Linked DNA regions of Homo sapiens: regions 1, 2 and 3 are each linked to region 4. The links are contacts of gene promoters, found by promoter capture Hi-C in blood cells and fetal thymus (Javierre and others, 2016). All regions are on one chromosome and are shown on one strand. Each heading gives the region's core, a stretch centred on a gene start or on the middle of the fragment in contact. The rest is flanking DNA. Distances are from core to core; before and after follow the strand shown.

What was found. The method cuts DNA at HindIII sites, captures the fragments that hold promoters and counts their contacts. A CHiCAGO score of 5 or more calls a contact.
Region 1: a fragment that was not itself captured here is called in contact with the fragment with the promoter of CD1A in region 4 in 1 of 17 cell types (endothelial precursors); the score reaches 6.8 in endothelial precursors.
Region 2: a contact is called between a fragment that was not itself captured here and the fragment with the promoter of CD1A in region 4, in 3 of 17 cell types (endothelial precursors, total CD4 T cells and naive B cells). The highest score is 5.7, in endothelial precursors.
Region 3: a fragment that was not itself captured here is called in contact with the fragment with the promoter of CD1A in region 4 in 1 of 17 cell types (endothelial precursors); the score reaches 7.0 in endothelial precursors.

Annotation. Positions count from the first base shown.
Region 1 is chr1:158,942,340-158,945,272 of GRCh38, reverse strand. PYHIN1 (pyrin and HIN domain family member 1) reads right to left here. Exons shown (of 9, transcript NM_152501.5): 5 at 2,874-2,933; 6 at 1,295-1,483; 7 at 231-398. Among named protein-coding and RNA genes, the nearest start is that of PYHIN1, 12 kb to the right of the region's middle. The HindIII fragment of the contact is 525 bases long and covers 1,375-1,899 here.
Region 2 is chr1:158,982,804-158,985,985 of GRCh38, reverse strand. It overlaps a transcript of PYHIN1 not described here. Among named protein-coding and RNA genes, the nearest start is that of PYDC5, 18 kb to the left of the region's middle. The HindIII fragment of the contact is 1,925 bases long and covers 576-2,500 here.
Region 3 is chr1:158,964,516-158,967,364 of GRCh38, reverse strand. The region is part of intron 7 of PYHIN1 (pyrin and HIN domain family member 1); the gene reads right to left. Among named protein-coding and RNA genes, the nearest start is that of PYHIN1, 34 kb to the right of the region's middle. The HindIII fragment of the contact is 2,926 bases long and covers 13-2,849 here.
Region 4 is chr1:158,252,849-158,255,943 of GRCh38, reverse strand. It overlaps CD1A (CD1a molecule), which reads right to left and starts at 1,520. Exons shown (of 6, transcript NM_001763.3): 1 at 1,217-1,520; 2 at 594-860. The coding sequence starts at 1,274. The HindIII fragment of the contact is 5,152 bases long and covers 1-3,095 here.

The sequences.
Region 1 (2,933 bases), core at 388-2,887, 690 kb before region 4:
TACTAGCCCTCTTGTGGTCAGCAATCGTTGCACAAATAAATATCTTTTAGATAGCAAAGACTATCATGTGGTAGTATCTCACTGTATGCATTCAATAAATACATGGGTGATTTAATTTTATCTAGAGATTGTACACAGTTAGGGATTAGAAGAGAAACTCTTTCAACAATCTAATGATCCTTGTAATTTATATTTGGGAGATAAGAGTCATGGGACCCAGGATATTGTACCTTGGTGAAGGAACTGCTGGATGGGGTTGTTGGTGGCATCTGAGGAGTCTTGAGATGGCTTTCAGGTAGGGTTGTGCTGGCCTCTGAAGGTTTTGGATGCTGACTCTGTTCCTGGGGTAGTGCCATGCTCCTGGAGTCATGGCTTCTCTGGTTTGTATTTTTCTGTATCTGAAAGTATTCATTTTTTTGTTTAATGTTTTTTAATATTAGGGAAAGCAAAACATCTTTAAATATGTGAGAATATCATCCTTTATTAAATTCTAATAGATGTCATTACCTTCAAAGATTGCCTCTATCTAATGTATTCCTCCAGGCAACTGCCAATATATTTTTTTGCTAAAATGTAAAATGATCTAACATTCTTAGTAAAATAAAATCTTTATTCACTTATTTTTTAAAATGAAATCCATTTTTGTCTTTATGGCATAAGACAGATGAGAAAAGGGCTGCTTGTTACCTGTCTTGCATGAATTTCTCATACCTTTCCACATATGCCAAAGTTGTACAGAACTCACTATGCTTTTTCTCACTTTTAATGTTTGTATGCAACATTTTCTCTGCCTGAAGTCTTTCCAATGTCTGTCTTTACCTTGTTAAGAGCAGTAGTATCTAGTGCATACTGGTTTGTCACAAGGTACAAGGAAGGCAATGGGCTACAAAATGTATATCCATGATCTCATTTAATTTTCAAACCAATTGTGTGAGGAACATGTAAGCTATTTCTCCAATATCATGCAACCAATGAGCAAGATATATACCAAGCCTATCTTACTGCAAAGAACTTGGTTTTGATAACTAACTGCAATTAGGCCCGTGGCCTCCTAGTTTCTTCAAATATTTTAATATTTAGCACAAGTTTCATGTCTTTTTGAAGAAGATAATTGTCCATCTCTTAATATATTTTAATAATTTTCTCTATTTAAATGTAAGCGCAAGGGCATTATTTGGTTTCTCATGAACTCTGCAGAATTTTAAGTGTAAAACAACAGAAGTATGGCTTCCTAAAACTTAAAGCAAATGATTTTCATCTTTGGAAAACTAATATTTGTTTCTTTATTTCTCACCTGGATGAAACTATGCATTTCTGACATCAGTTTTGACATATTTTCCCTCTTTCTCAGTCGAAAGCAGAAGAGTCGAAGCTTATCTCCTTTTTCACAGGGGATATTGTGGCATTCTCCTTTTCCTACTACAGCCATACTTCCTGTTTTATCCTGAATTTCATAGATTGTCGTCTTCCTATTTACAATTTTCTGCAACAAAAAATTAATATCATGTTTGTGAGAACATAGTAACTACCGTGCATATAGGAAAGTCTCTTGTGACAGATTAAAAACAAGATGCAAGACAGCAACTCCTAGTACTGTATCGACATACAATACATATGCCTTAGTCTAGACCATCTCACAGAGCTCTCCCTCAATATCCTTTTTGTTTAAGTCCTTAATGTTCTAAGTATTTCTATTACAGTTCTAGAGCAATGAGTTATCTTCCCATTTTCAACTTCTTTCACCTCCAAGACTGCTATGCTTCCCAAAGCACCTTGATACAAAGGAAACTGAAGTCCTTGGTAGGCTTATTTGGCCTCTGCCCCTATGCAAAAAGAATGGGCATCTGTCACAACTCATCATTCACTATGTTATGAGGAATCTGTAATAAAAAACAAGCTTCTAGTAACTATCTAATTACTTTTTTGACTTTCTCCATTTACTGAATCTCTTTCAACATCTGCTCCCATCCTGAACTCAGGTCCTTAAGCTCAAACATTCCAATTTCTTGCTCATCAAGGCTATTACTCATCGTTCTGGATGTGTATTTCTAAGAATTTCTTTAAGAGTGTGTACAGAAAGCAATGCTGGTAAAATAAGAGGTCATTCTAGAAAATAAATATAACAGATCATGAGCTGTCAGTCATCTAAGAAATTACTGGACTCAATAGCCAGGTATAGATGGTTTTCTGAGTTGGAATGTCTCAAGCTAACTAGTTTCGTGAATTTTGACAGTAACATATCAGAAAATTTTTTCTGCTCTTTTTTTGCGACATATCTAATATACGAGTACAGATTACCTGATTCTCCAAGTATCACCCAAATTTATATTTCTCAGCCCTTCAATACTTTTTGATGAATGCATTTCATTTGGTCAGAACATTGTCCTACCTGTTTACTGCAATTGATTTCCAGGTATAAACAGTCAATTCATTTCTTGCCCTGATTGTCAAAACTGGAACTCAAGCCTCAAAGAACAATACTGTATTCAAAATGAAAACAATGTGATTTTTGCTACAATTGAGATTATAATCAAAGAAATAAGTTTAGTATTATGTTTGTATGGATCTAGATCCCTCACTATCTTTGATCGTTATGACTCATAATAGATAGTCACAGCTGATGAAGTCTCAAGGTTTCTCAGTGAATGTTTTACTAAAGAACTTCAGGGTGATATTTTGGAAAGAATGAGAACATTAATAGTTCTCCTAATCCTGGTCTTAACCTCGAAGAAGACTTTATCTACTTGTCAGTAGTTTTGAGAGAGTCCTGAGTTTTAATGTTAAGTAATATGCAAACTTCCATTTAGCACATCAGGGCTTTTAATTTCAAGTGTTATTGTAGAAAATGCCACAAAATAGCTTTGATGCCTTACCGTATGTAGCATAAATAATCCATATACAATATATCCTGAAGTTTGTTTGTGAAGAATATT
Region 2 (3,182 bases), core at 289-2,788, 730 kb before region 4:
CACTACAAAAATTTCATAATATAATTGGAAGTACTAACAGCAGAAGCTGAGGAAAGCTGAGGAAAGAAATCTCAGAGCTTGAAGATCAGTTCTTCAAATCAACTCAGTCAGATAAAAATAAAGGAAAAAATAATAAAATATGAACGAAACTTCAAGAAATATGAGTTTATGTAAAGAGACCAAACCTACAACTGATTTGCATCACAGAAAGAGAGGGAGAGAGACCAAGCAACTTGGAGAACATATTTGAAGATATTGTCCCTGAAAATTTACCTGACCTTGCTAGAGAGGTTGACATGTAAATTCAGGAAATTCAGAGTACCCCAGCAAGATATTACACAAGATGACAATCCCTAAGACACATAGTTATCCAATTCTCCAAGATCAAGGTAAATAAAACATATGAAAGGCAGCAAAAGAGAAGAGGCAGATCATGTACAAAGGGAACCCTTATCACACTAACAGTGGACCTTTCAGCAGAAATTTTTCAAGCCAGAAAAGATTAAAGGCCTACATTCAGCATTCTTAAACAAAAGAAATTCTAACCATGATTTCATATCCAGCCGAACCAAGCTTTGTAAGTGAAAAAGAAACATAATCCTTTTCAGACAAACAAACACTAAGCGAATTTGTTACCATTAGGCCTGCCTTATAAGAGGTCCTTCAGGGAGTGCTGAACATGGAAACAAAAGGCTGCTACCTGCCACAAAACAACACACTTAAGTAAATATTCCACTGACACAATATGCAACTATACAATCAAGTCTACATAACAACCAGCTAATAACACTATGACAGGATCAAATCCTTACATATCAATATTAACCTTGAACATAAGCAGGCTAACCACTCCACTTAAAAGGCACAGAATGGTAAGTTGGATAAAGAAGCAAGACTCAATTACATGCTGTCTTCAAGAGACCCACCTTACATGTAAAGACACAGGCTTAAATTAAATGGATGGAGGAATATCTATAAAGCAAATGGAAAACAAACAAAATAGAGCAGGGGTTGCTCTTTTATTTCAGGAAAAAAAAAACAGACCTTAAACCAAAAGCTATCAAAGAGGATGAAGAAGGGCATCACATAATGATAAAAAGTTCAATTCTACAAACAAGACTTAACTATCCTAAAGATGTGTGCATTCAGCACTGGCACAACCAGATTCATAAAACAAGTTCTTAGAGACCTATGAAGAGAACTAGCTAACCTCACAATAATAGTGGGAGAATACAACACCCTACTAACATTGTTAGATAAATCATTGAGGGAGAAAACTAACAAAGATATTCAGGAACAAAATTTCACACTTGACTAAATTGACCTAACAGACATATAAGGAACATTCCACTCAACAACAGAATATACATTCTTCTCATCTGCACATGGCACATACTCTGTGCCACATGCTTGGCCACATGCTTGGCCATAAAGCAATGCTCAGGAAATTCAAAAAACAGAAATTATATCAACCACACTCTCAGATCACAGTGCAACAAAAATACAAATCAATACCAAGAAGATCTCTGAAAATCATAGAAGTATTTGGAAATTAAACAACTTACTCCTGAATGACTTTTGGGTAATAAATTAAATTAATGCAGAAATCAAGAAATCTTTGAAACTAATGAAAACAAAAATACAATATATCAGAGTCTCTGGGACACAGCTAAAGCAGTGTTAAGAGAAAAGTTTATAGCACTAAAGGCCTACATCAAAAAGTCAGAAATATCTTAAATTTATACCTAACATCACATTTACAGGAACTAGAAAAAACAAAAGGAAACCAACCCCCAAACTAGCAGAAGAAAAATAATAATCAAAATCTAAGTTGAACCAAATAAAATTGAGATGTGAAAATTCACAAAAATAATTAAGAAAACTAAAAATTGGTTTTTTGAAAGAATAAGATATATAGACCACTAGCCAGATTAATATACAAAAAAAAAAAAAAAAACAGGAGAAGATCCAAATAAATACAATTAGAAATGACAAAGGGGACATTACCATGGAACCCACAGAAATACAAAAACTCTCAAAGACCATTATGAACAATTTCTATGCTGAAAAACTAGAAAATCTAGAAGAAACAGATAAATTCCTGAAAACATACAACCTGCCAAGATTGAACCAGGAAGACATTGAATACCTAAACAGATCAATAACAAGTTCTGAAATTGAATCCATAATAAAATACCTACAAACCAACAAAAGCCATGGATCAGACAGATTCACATCTGAATTCTACCTGATAGATAAGGAGGAGCTGATACCAATCCTACCAAAATTATTCCAAAATATTGAGGAGCGGAGACTCTGCCCTGAATCATTCTATGAGGTCAGCATTATTCTGATACCAAAACCTGACAGAAACACAAAGGAAAAACAAATTCAGGACAATATGCCTGATAAATATTGATGCAAAAGTCCTCAAAAAAAAATACTAGCAAACTAAATCCAGCAGCACAGCAAAAGCTAAGCCACCATGATCAAGTAAGCTTTACCCCTGGAATGCAAAGTTGGTTCAACATACGCAAATTGGTAAATGTGATTTATCACATAAACAGAACTAAAAACAAAAATCACGTGATTATCTAAATAGATGCAGAAAAGGTTTCAATAAATTCAACATTCTTTCATGTTAAAAACCCTCAACAAACTAGGTATCAAAGGAACATACCTCAAAATGAGACATCTATGACAAAACCACAGCCAACATCATATCACAAATAGGCAAAAGCTGAAATCATACCTCTTGAGAACCAGAACAAGACAAAGTTGCCTACTCTCACTACTCCTGGTTCAACATAGCACTGGAAGTTCTAGCCAGAGCAGTCAGGCAAGAGAAAAAAAAATAAAAGACGTCCAAATAGAAAGAAAGGAAGTCAAACTACCTCCTTTTGCAGGTAATATGATTCTATACCCAGAAAACCCCATAGCCTTTGCCCCAAATTTCCCAGAAATTATAAACAACTTCAGCAAAGTCTCAGGATACAAAATCAATGTACAAAAATTAGTAGCATTTCTATACAACTAATAATACCCAAGCTGAAAGCCAAACCAAGAACATAGTTCCTTTCACAATAGCCACACAAAGAATAAACACATAGGAATACAGCTAACCTGGGAGGTAAAAGATTTCTACAACAAGAGTTACAAAATGCTGCTAAAAGAAATTAGAG
Region 3 (2,849 bases), core at 226-2,725, 710 kb before region 4:
CCTCTCCAAGCTTCAGTTTCCTTATGTAAAAAATGAAATGATTGCCTCATTATTTTGATTTGAAGATTATGAGAAAAATGGATCCAAAGTGATGTACACAGTGCCTGTCACATAAGACACAATATACAAAACAGACTACATTCTAAGAAAACCCTCTCATCCCACAAATAGCCTGCTCTAGAAAAAAATGTAGTATGGTGATTTCCAACCTTGATGAATACAATAAATCCTTTTGTCAATTTTTGTGGCAATTGTGAACGGAATTGCATTCCTGTTTTGACTCTCAGCTTGGATGTTGTTGGTTTATAGGAATGTGTACTGATTTTTGTATATTGATTTTGTATCCTGAAACTTTGCTGAAGTTGTTTATGAGATCAAAGAGCTTTTCTGCAGAGACTATGGGTTTTTCTAAATACAGGATTTTGTCATCTGCAAAAAGTGATAGTTTGACTTTCTCTTTTCCTACTTGGATGCCTTTTATTTCTTTATCTTGCCTGATTCCTCTGGCCGGGATTTCTAGTACTCTATTGAATAGGAATGGTGAGGGAGGCCATCCTTGTCTTGTTCCAGTTTTCAAGGGGAGTGCTTCTAGCTTTTGTCCATAAAGTATGATGTTGGCTGTGGGTTTGTTGGAAATGGTTCTTATTATTTTGAAGTATGTTCATTCAATGTCTAGAGTATTTAGGGTTTTTAACATGAAGGGATGTTGCATTTTATTGAAAGCTGTTTCTGCATCGATTGAGATGATTATGTAGCTTTTTGGTTCTGTTTATGTGATGAACCACATTTATTGTTTTGTATATGTAACTTTGTATTCCAGAGATAAAGCCTACTTGATTGTGTTGGACTAGCTTTTTGAAGTACTGCTAGATTTTGTTTACTTGTATTTTTTTGAGGATTTTTGCATGTATGTTCATCAAGAATAACCACCTGAAGTTTTCTTTTTTTGTTGTGTCTCTGCCTTTTGTTATCAGGATGATGCTGGCCTCATAGAATGAATTGGAGAGGAGTCCCTCCTCCCCAGTTTTTTGAATAGTTTTAGTAGGAATGGTACCAGCTCATCTTTATGCATCTGATAGCATTTGGCTGTGAATCCATCTGGTCATGGGCTACTTTTAGTTGGTAGACTTTTTCTTACTGATTCAATTTCAGAACTTGTTATTGGTCTATTCAGTTATTCAGTTTCCTCCTGGGTTAGTCTTCAGAGGTTGTATGTGTCTAGGAATTTATCCATTTCTTCTAGGTTTTATAGCTTGTGTGCATAGAGGTGATTATAGTAGTCTCTGAAGGATTGTTGTATTTCTGTGGGGTCAGTGGTAATTTCCCTTGGTCATTTCTAATTGTGTTTATTTAGATCTTGTCTCTTTTTTTAGTCTATCTAGCAATCTTTCTTATTAATTTTTTCAACAGATGAACTCCTGGATTCGTTGATCTTTGTCTGTTTTTTTCACATCTCAATTTCTTTTAGTTTAGCTCTGATATTGGTTATTTCTTTTCTCCTGCTGGCTTGGGGATTGATTGTTCTTGCTTTTCTAGTTCTTCTAGTTGTGATGTTGGGTTGTTAATTTGAGATCTTTTAAATTTTTTGATGTGAGCGCTTAGTGCTACAAACCTCTCTCTTAAGACTGACTTAGCAATGTCCCAGAGATTCTGATGTATTTTATCTTTGTTCTCATTAGTTTCAAAGAATTTCTTTATTTCTGCCTTTATTATTCACCCAAAAGTCATTCAGGAGAAGGCTGTTTAATTTCCATGTAATTGTATGGTTGGAGCCATTTTCTTACTATAGATTTATACTTTTATGCACTGTGTTCTGAGAAGGTGGTTGGTATGATTCTGTTTTCTTGAATTTGCTGAGGATTGTTTTATATCTGATCGTGTGGTCGACTTCAGAGTGTGTGCTATGTGGCAGTAAGAAGAATGTGTGTTCCATTGTTTTAGGTTGAGAGTTCCATAAATGTCCATTAGGTCCATCTTGTCAAGTATTGAGTGCAGTTCCTGAATATCTTTGCTATTTTTTTTTGTTTGCCTGAATGATCGATCTAATACTGCCAGTGTGGTATTGAAGTCTCCCACTATTATTGTATGTGACTCTAAGTCTCTTTGTGGGTCTCTGAGAACTTGTTTTATGAGTCTAGGTGCTCCTGTGTTGTGTGTGTATATATTCAAGGTAGTTAGGTCTTCTTGTTGAATGAAAGCCTTTACCATTATGAAATGCCCTTCTTTGTCTTTTTAACTCTTTGTTGGTTTAAAGTCTGTTTTTTCTGAAATTATGATGGCACCCTCTGTTTTTTTTTTCTGCTTTCTATTTGTTTGGTAGATTTTTCTTTGTCCTTTTATTTTGAGCCAATGGGTGTCATTGCATGTGAGACAGGTCTCTTGAGGACAGTATACCATTGGGTCTTGCTTCTTTATCCAGCCTGCCACTCTGTGACTTTTAAGTGGAGTGTGTAGCCTGTTTACATTAAAGGTTAATATTGACATCTGCAGATTTGATCCTGTCATTGTGTTGTTAGCTGATTATTATGCAGACTTGTTTCTGTGGTTGCTTCATAGTGTCACTATTCTGTGTACTTAATTGTGTTTCTGTAGTGTCTGGTAATGTTCTTTCCTTTTCATACTTAGTGTTCCTTTCAGTATCTCTTATAAGGCAGGTCTGGTGGTAACAAATTCCCTCAGCATTTGCTTGTCTGAAAAGGATCTCATTTCTTTTTCATTTTTGATGCTTTGTTTGGCTGTATGTGAAATTCTTGCTTGGAAATTATTTTCTTTAAGAATGCTGAATATAGGTCCCAAGCTCTTCTGGCTTGTCAGGCTCCTGTTGAAAGTTCTGCTGTAGTCTGATAGGG
Region 4 (3,095 bases), core at 271-2,770:
AAAGATTATAGAAGCAGAAGGGGGAAGTGTGCAGGGTTTGACATAATGGAATAAAATTTGGTTTGGTCAGGGATTCAGAGAAAGAGGAATTGGTGGGAGCTGTAGGTGGAGGAAAAGATTAATAACATGAGGAAGAGGGCAAACTGGTCAAAGAAGGTGATGTGAATGCTGTGGGTGAGCAAGGACCTGGTGTAAGAGAACTGGGATTATAACAACTTAGGTTGAATTAAATGCAATGGGTTACAATTGAGTATATATAGAGAGACTGCTGAAGAGAATGAATGAGAAAGTGAGAAAGCTGAAGGTATCTGGTTGTAGGGCAGGCAGAAGGGTGGTCCTGGGATACCTGTAAGAAAAGATAATAATGCACAACCCTGCAATCAATGAGAGAGGAGTTCATAAGTAGCAGAAGTGTTTGGAGAATTAAGGTCTGGATGATAGCCCTTGCCCAAAAGTATGCAATTGCAGTTTTATGGTGGAAAGAATAGAATAAGATACAGAAGAGAGTCAGGCTGTTTCCTAAAGGAATAAGAAACATTGAGACAACCCCTCTCTCCCACCTCACCACTCTCCATGGAGAAAACTGAACTCACATTCAAACTGCAATTCATGGGCGTATCTACGAATTCCCTCAAATGACCGAATGGTGCGTATACGGAATAATGTTTCCAGTTCCTTCCACTCCTCATTGCTGAAGTTTCCCCTGGACCAGGGGCACAGGAAAACGATGGTGCTGGAATTGCTGTCCCAGGTATGAGTCTGCAAATCACTCAGCCAACCTGAGACCAGATTTTGTTTCCAGGAATGGTTGTAAAAGGATGCGATCCAGGTGACATGGAAGGAGAGAGGCTCCTTGAGCCCTGCGACAAAAGAACAGATAGAATGGGGAGAAAGACATTGAGAAAGAGGATGGAGAGAGAAAGGTGCCAGAGTGCGGGAACTCAGAATCTGGAGAAAAGGGGATCCATCATGATCTTAGCAGACATTCACTTGCCACACAGTCCCATGCCTTATCAACCACCTTCATAAGAGCTCAGGGACCTGGAGTCATGGATAGTCAGAATGGAACCAGCCTGGCACTCTCACTTTCCAGGTATATGCTAGGGAAACCACACACACACACACACACACACACACACACACACACACACACACACAGAGAGAGAGAGAGAGACCTTCACCCACCACCCAACTGGGCAGTTGTCAGAGTTCTTACCGTCTGCATTGCCATCACCTGGGAGAACAGCTAACAATGGAAGTAGCAAAAACAGCATATCATTTGCAGATGTTATTTCCTTCTCTCAGAAAAATTGGTCTTTGATTTCTGTTCCAAACAAACCTACCCCACGATATCTCTATTCTGACTTCTTTCTGCAGCCAACAGACAAACCTCCCCTGACTGCAACAAAGAAAATCCACTCCTTCAAAAACCCTGAGATGCCTACTCAGTCTCTCATTTCCCTCTGGTTCTGACTCTCCTCTCTGTTCCAGCTTCTCTCCTTGTCACCAACCTCCAACTTATTCACCTTCCCCTAATTCAACTGCTATGGAACAAGTCTGATGTGGCATTGAAAAGCCACTTAACCACTAAGGACATTTTTTTCTCAATCATACAATAAGAGCATAAAGTGAAATGGCTCCCAGTGTGCTGCCCAATGCTCCCATGTCCCTGCTCTTTTTGATCACTCTGTCCTTTTCAATATTTTCCCATGTATTCTCTTCCCCTGTCTCTTCAGCCCCTTACTACATTCACATTTCTGATTTAACATTGATTTATTTGCTTTTTCAGAGTCTCCTACGACTGCCCTGTGCGACAGTACAAACTAACACCTTTTCTCCATTATTCTTAGAGAAGAGCCAGTAACCATCACAAAAAAAAAAAAAAAAAAAAAAAAAAAAAAAAAAAAAAAAACCACAGGAACACTAAAACATATAAAGAAAATTTCCTCTGTTTGATTTTCATTGATATACATTCACTCACCCAACAGTCTCTCTTAGCACCTGCCTGGAGTCAAGCATCTTGGTACACTTAAGAATATGCAGTGGTTGACAACACAATCACTTTACTGAAGGAGCTTTTTCTCTACTTAGGGAGAAAAACACGCCATGAAATATAAATCTTGGTGTACTGAGTTTTATTATACTGTATACACTCTCTGGATAAAAACAAGGCCTGCTTGAAATAATATTTTCTAAAATGGGGGCTCCTAACTAATGTACGCCAGCCCAGAATTTTGACTTCAATGTTTGACTTGGAGTGTTAGTTCCATACAGTTATCATACTGTATCCCCACCTAACAGAGTATCTCACAAGTGGTAGGTGCTTAGTGAATATTTGTCAAATGAATGAATGAATTCAGTCTATGCATCCATTTTTTAATTATGGAGGTGATATTCAACATGAAACTTTTTAAAGATATCATAAAAGTTACTTGTAACCCTATGTAGTGAGATGAGAATCTCATACAGTTTTATTTAGGATAAAAGTACAAGTTACTGGCATGAGATTTACATAAAAGATCCTGCTATAAATGTCCTATTACTTATAAGAAACTAGTCAGAACTTGTGAGCAGTGAAGTTAATGGAGTATTCCAAAGTCTTTATCCCAGGATCCCTTTTTATTAGTCCTATTTGGATGTTTCAGGGTTGTTTTGTTATAAATGAGTCTTTGCCGGACACATTTACATTCCTCTTTTACGCTGCTTGTAACTGTTGAAGGGCTTCTAAATATATGTTTGTGCTTTGTAGATATCATCCATATAAATGTGTCTGGGCTATTTACTATTTTTTGGTTTTCAAAAAAAAAGTATCTGAAGCTAATTTAGGGGGAAAAAATTTTTTTTCTTGAGACAGGGTTTCACTCTGTTACTCAGGCTGGAGTGCAGTGGAATAATCATAGCTCACTGTAACCTCCAACTCCCGGCCTCAAGCAATCCTCCTGTGTCAGCCTCCCAAAGTGCTGGGATTGTTGGCATGAGCCACCAGGCATGGCCTGCAAATAATTTTTTTATTTGTTTTTTGTTTTGTTTTGTTTTGTTTTGTTTTGAGACAGAGTCTCACTCTGTCACCCAGGCTGGAGTTCAGTGGCATGATC